2 separate regions of the Homo sapiens genome follow, and region 1 is linked to region 2. Evidence: promoter capture Hi-C in 16 types of primary human blood cells and fetal thymus (Javierre and others, 2016). All regions are on one chromosome and are shown on one strand. The core of a region is centred on a gene start or on the middle of the fragment in contact, and the rest is flanking DNA. Distances in the headings are between cores, read along the strand shown.

Evidence for each region. Contacts are between HindIII fragments. The CHiCAGO score rates a contact against its expected background, and 5 or more counts as called.
Region 1: a fragment that was not itself captured here is called in contact with the fragment with the promoter of MAPK6 in region 2 in 1 of 17 cell types (total CD8 T cells); the score reaches 5.9 in total CD8 T cells.

What each region holds. Positions count from the first base shown.
Region 1 is chr15:55,265,461-55,268,160 of GRCh38, forward strand. The region is part of intron 2 of RAB27A (RAB27A, member RAS oncogene family); the gene reads right to left. Among named protein-coding and RNA genes, the nearest start is that of RAB27A, 23 kb to the right of the region's middle. The HindIII fragment of the contact is 4,044 bases long and covers 1-2,700 here.
Region 2 is chr15:52,017,793-52,020,492 of GRCh38, forward strand. It overlaps MAPK6 (mitogen-activated protein kinase 6), which reads left to right and starts at 1,427. Exons shown (of 6, transcript NM_002748.4): 1 at 1,427-1,584. It overlaps MAPK6-DT (MAPK6 divergent transcript), which reads right to left and starts at 1,303. Exons shown (of 2, transcript NR_156732.1): 1 at 907-1,303. RefSeq lists enhancers at 1,028-1,097, 2,438-2,487 and silencers at 1,268-1,377, 1,678-2,187. The HindIII fragment of the contact is 8,244 bases long and covers 1-2,349 here.

The sequences.
Region 1 (2,700 bases), core at 47-2,546, 3.2 Mb after region 2:
CAAAAATTACACAGTGCACTAGATAATGTGGGGAACGACTTTACCTCACATGTCAGCCAAATAAGCATTATCCTTTCAAGATAACAGAAACTATAAGCAAATAATTCTTGATGCCAATCCAAAACATGTAACTGAGTTTTGATGGAATTTGGTAAGGAATGCCTGATGCTCAAAATTAAAAAAAAAAAAAAGACCAGGTTTCGAACCGTCAGGAGGGAACACATCTTGGGCTGACTGATGCGGGCAGGTAAGGGTTTGAGGGTTTGCGCTTGCAAAGGTGTAAGAGGCTAAGGTTACTTAGGATGCATTAAAGGACTTCAGCAGTGGATGTGGCTGAAGGGATGCATGGAGGTAGGGGAGAATGTATCCAGAACAGAGGCTGAAAACATGGGAAAGTGTTTGAGACCTGGGTCTAAAAGGACTGTGACATGGCACTAAAAAGTTTGTGTGTTATCCTCTGGGCAACAGAAGGCCACCACGGGCTCTTTATGCAGGAGAGGACCATGAGATGTGTGCCTTAGAAAGATCTCTATGGCAGCCACATGGAGACTGGAAATACACAGAGCATCAGAAGGCTCTAATGTTACCGACTGAATGTTTGTGTCTCCCCAAAATTTGTATGTTGAAATCTAATCCCCAATGTGATGGTATAAGGAGGCAGGTCTTTGGGAAGTAATTAGGTTTTGAGGATAGATCCTTCATGAAGGGGATTAGTGCCCCTATAAGAAGAGGCCAGAGAGCTACCTTTCTGCCTTGTGAGAATACAGTGAAAAGTCAAGTGTCTGCAACCTGGAAGAGAGCTCTCACCAAAATCTGAGCATGCTGATACCCTGATCTCAGACTTTCAGCCTCTAGAACAATGAGGAATAAATTTCCGTTGTTTGCAAGCTATCCAGTCTATGGTACTTTGTTATAACAGTTTGAACTGGTTAAGACATATGGAGAGAGATTTTGAGGGTTTGAATTGTGTTGGTGACAGTAGGGATGAAGAAGAAGTGATTAATTTGAGATATATTTAGGAGGTAGAAATCAATATAACTTCTTAACAGACTAGTATAGAAATTAAAGATAACCAAAACTTTTAGTTTGGTAAATAAATGGTATAACATTAACTGAAAAAGGAAAAGATGGTTTGAGAAGATGATAATTATTATAACTAACACTAAGCACTATTCTAAATCCTTTAAAGCACTAACTCATTTAGTCTTCACAACAACCGTATAAGGTCCCTAAATCTACAGATGAAAAATACCAATGCACAGAAAGGTTAATAAAGTTGCCCAAGGTCACACAGCCAGAAATGGCAGAACCAAGATGTGATCTCAGACACACTCTCAACTACCACATTACACTGTACGGTACACAACCAGTTAAACATCTCTCATGTCTGAGGGACATCAAGGGAGTTGTGTTTAATTTGCATTTGGAAAACAGACCTAGGGCTCACAAGAAGAATATGGCTATGAATTTTAGTGTCATCAACATAATAGTATTTCCTTAGGCCATGGGAAAAATGAGATGGACATTTAGAGTGAAGAGAGAACAAAAATGTAAGGAGCAGCAAGACAGATACAAGAAGGACACTAGGAAGGAGATTTTTCAAGCAGTGATTGTCCACAGGCTGGCTCAGTTGCCACACCACAGAGGTACAAACTTGAAGTGGTCTGGGCCTTCTCCGTGTGAAAATGGCAAATCCATTCACTGTTTGCTGGATGAATGGACTTATCATTGAGCTATTTGCTGGATTTACCATCTAGCTAAAAGATAGCTAAAAGATTCCAGCTTAGACTATGTCATCAAGAAAGGAGGCCTGATAGGGTATGAAACGGGGAAAACAAGAAAAACAAACAAAAATGGATGCTCTCAGCTCTTGAAAGGATGATTTATACCCGTGTTTGAGCAAAGCAGATTCTGCCTTCAGAGAAGCAGCAGCAAAGATAGCTCATTTCTCAAGCAGCACCCCATCTCATCCATCACCCACTTCCCCTACCTGCCCCCCAGCCTACACCACAGGACCTCTGCTCTGCCAAGAGGGCAGGGCCCCAGCCACGCTGCAGCAACACCAGAAGCGCAAAAGAAAATGTGCTGTTGCATAGACAGCGCAAATAAATAATGGTTCTTGTGATAATCAGCTTTTGCTTTTAATGGGCTTCACATGACTCATCAGCTATCACGTATGCTATAGCCTGAGCTCTGGCTCTAAATCAAACAAGTTCAAAGGGAGAAGAAAGGAATAATAGCAAAAGATGAGCAGATATCTCAAGAAGCCTTAATCCTACTGAGGAAAAACAGAAATGGAGGCAGGAAGAAGACAGTTTCCCCTATGAGCACTCAGGTACCGAGGGTCCAGAGAGGGCGGAAGCTGAAACAGCCGCAGAGAGAGGCAGCCTAGTTGCCGTGACGCCATCCTGCCAGCCAGCAAGATTTCACCAGACCGTTCCCTTTCTGCCACAGTTCCTGTCTTGTGGGCAGCAGAAGCACCAAGAAAGAAGAAAAATGGTTGTTTGTATTCTTATGGCTGCAGGGTCATACCTCTGTGACTTAACTATTTCAACAAGTGACAAGGAGAAAGTGGTAAGAGACAGAGAGAGCAGCCAAGATGGGGGTAAACTCCTTTGGAATGTATTAAATCCAACTTCATTCTATGGATAAAATGCCCTCATGAATAAACACTCATCCCCAAAACATCTTTTTTTTTTT
Region 2 (2,700 bases), core at 177-2,676:
AGAGTGAGAGGAAAAATGTCCTGAGGATCAGAGGAGAGCCTAGAGCAGAGGCAGTGGGGCTGAAGGTACGAGCTCTCGTTGCAGAAGCTGGAAATTCTGCGGTTGGAACAAGTCTCCCCTTTCTCTTGGTTTTTTTCACTCATTACCTCTTCTTCACACCTGGTACTCAGCTGACGTTGTTTTAAATATTAAAAAATATAAAGCATTCAAGCTCACCCCAACCACTTAACTTCATTACTCTGTGATTTTTTTTTTTGAGACAGAGTTTCGCCCTTTCGCCCAGGCTGGAGTGTCCTGGCGCGATCTCGGCTCACTGCAACCCCCCGCGGGGTTCAAGCTATTCTCCTGCCTCAGCCTCCCGAGTAGCTGGGATTACAGGTGTGAGCCACCACACCCGGCTACTTTTTGTATTTTTAGTGGAGACGGGGCTTTCACCATGTTGGCCATGCTGGTCTCGAACTCCTGGCCTCAGGTGATCTGCCCGTCTCGGCCTCCCAAAGTGCTAGGATTACAGGCGTGAACCACCACGCCTGGCCCTTTGTGATCTTTTTGAAGTGGTCTTTGCCTCTTTCTTGAAGATGCCCATAATAATGACTAGAAGGGCTATTCTATGTCTGGTTCTCAGCAAGATGGTGATGAAGTCATTGAAAAAATATGCTGACCTGCGTCTCTAATTTCATAAATACTTAAATTTCACATAAACACTGAAAAGGCTCCTTGGACTCAATAAGCCATGATAAGTAATGTAAGTTTGCTTTTAGCCAAGTGGGCCCAAGAAGGCACCCATCCACCTTTCTACGTTTCATAGTGCATCCCTTCCCAAATTCAAATTGTCCTATCCCAGTTCCTGCAACAAGCCAGGTACTCTGGCCTCCCAGTCTTTGCTCACAGAAACACCCTCCCCACCTCCTGGTTATATCCGCTCCTCCGGGATCCAGCTGAAAGGCCACCTTGGCGACCACTCCTGAAAGCCTTCCTCCATACTCTGGCAGAATGAATGACCTTAGTATTGGCCTCTAACGCGTCTGTCTTGTGCTCGGGCTGTCGCCTTCCAGCCAATCCATCTTAAGGTCCACCCTTCCTGGAGACTGAGGCCTCTTCCTCTCGGATTGCCCAGTGCCTTGCACGTAGTAGGTGCTTAGTAAACGCTGGCACTGGGTTTGGTCACTTTGTTCCCTTAATGCCAGGGCAGGTAGTAGAGCAAACGGCCCCAGCTGTCTTCCTCCCTGCCCGCCCGCAGGCAAAGCCCCCAGGAGACGCCGGACGAGCCGCGTGCCTTTCCCACCGCCTCCGCGGCGCGCGCAGCCCAGTCACGGGCGCTGGAAATTCCGGCGCGTGCGGGTGCGCTGGGCAGGGCGGGGGCGGGAGAACCCGTGGAGTGAGCCTGTGACGTGAGGGGGCGTGGCACCGCGAAGCCCCGCCCCCTCTTCCTCGCCCTCTCTCGCGGGTCGGGGTTACATGGCGGCGACTGCGGCAAAGCGAGAGCCTCGGAGACGCCGCTGCCGCCAGCACAGCCGGAGACCTGAGCCGACACTGGGGGCAGTCCGCGAGCCCCGCACTCTCTCGATGAGTCGGAGAAGTCCCGTGAGTGTGTGTGTGTACGTGTGCGGGGTGCGCCGGCGGGGCGGCTCGGGAGGGCGCCGCGGCGGGCCCGGCGGCGGCGGCGGCGGCGGCGACGGCGGAGCCGGCTCCCTCCTCCATTGTGTGTGACCCTCCGGCGGCTGCCGCTCAACAAAGGCGTTTTTGTTCGGTCTGCCGCCCGCCCCCTGCTCGCCCGCCTGCCCGCCCGCTCGGGCCTGGCCGGCGCGTCCCCGCGCGGGCGGGCGGGCGGCGGGCTGGGGTCCCCGCGTGGGGCCGGCCAGGCGGCCAGCGCGCCCCTCCCACCCGGCACGCCCCTCGCCGGTCGCCCTGCCAGGCCGCGCCCGCTCCCTGGCCCCGCACGCCTGCTGCCGTCCCGCCGCCTGCGCCTGGCTCCGCGGGTTCGAAACCCAGCCGGACCGGACCGGAGGGCGGGCGAGCGAGGGGCGGCGGCCCGGGGAACATGAGGTGGCGTGGAGTCTCGCCTTACTGGCACGCTGCCTTTCGAAATGCTCCCGCGTCTCCTCCCCCATCCCACCCGGTGACTCGGCCTCAGCTGACTCCGGCCGGGCAAAGTCTCCAGTGGCGTAGCGCGCAGCGCTCACCCGGCTCGTCTCAGAGCCCTGAAGTCCGCCCAAGTTTTGAGTCTTGCCATGAATGAGGTACTGAAAACTCGGAGACGAAATTCCTAATTTCCTCCCTCGGCCCTACAGTCTTTCCTTAGCTTCTTTCGGGACCTTAAGTGGTGGTCTGTAAAAGTGCCCAAATGAAAGCTTGTTTTGTCGGTTCACCAAAAAGGGCCTTGTCACTTTGCTGTGCATTTTAGTCCGCCTTGTGAGTTGTGTCGAAAAGTAAAGGTGTTTTGGCATCCTTTTGTTTCTTGGCGAGTGTAGGACCCAACCGGTTTAGGTGTTAGGGGGATCTCTGTGCAGCGGGAGCTTCTTGATTCCTTTCCTGTTTTATTTTTTCTTTTGCTTGTTCATTGGAAAAGGTCCAGTGAAAGGGACTGGTGAGTTGGAATTAGAAGCCTACTTGTATTAACGGCAGAATTCGTGTTCATTGCTAAAGATGCAGTCTCAGTAATGACTTTTTTTTTTTTAACGGATACAGATGATTTGTCAA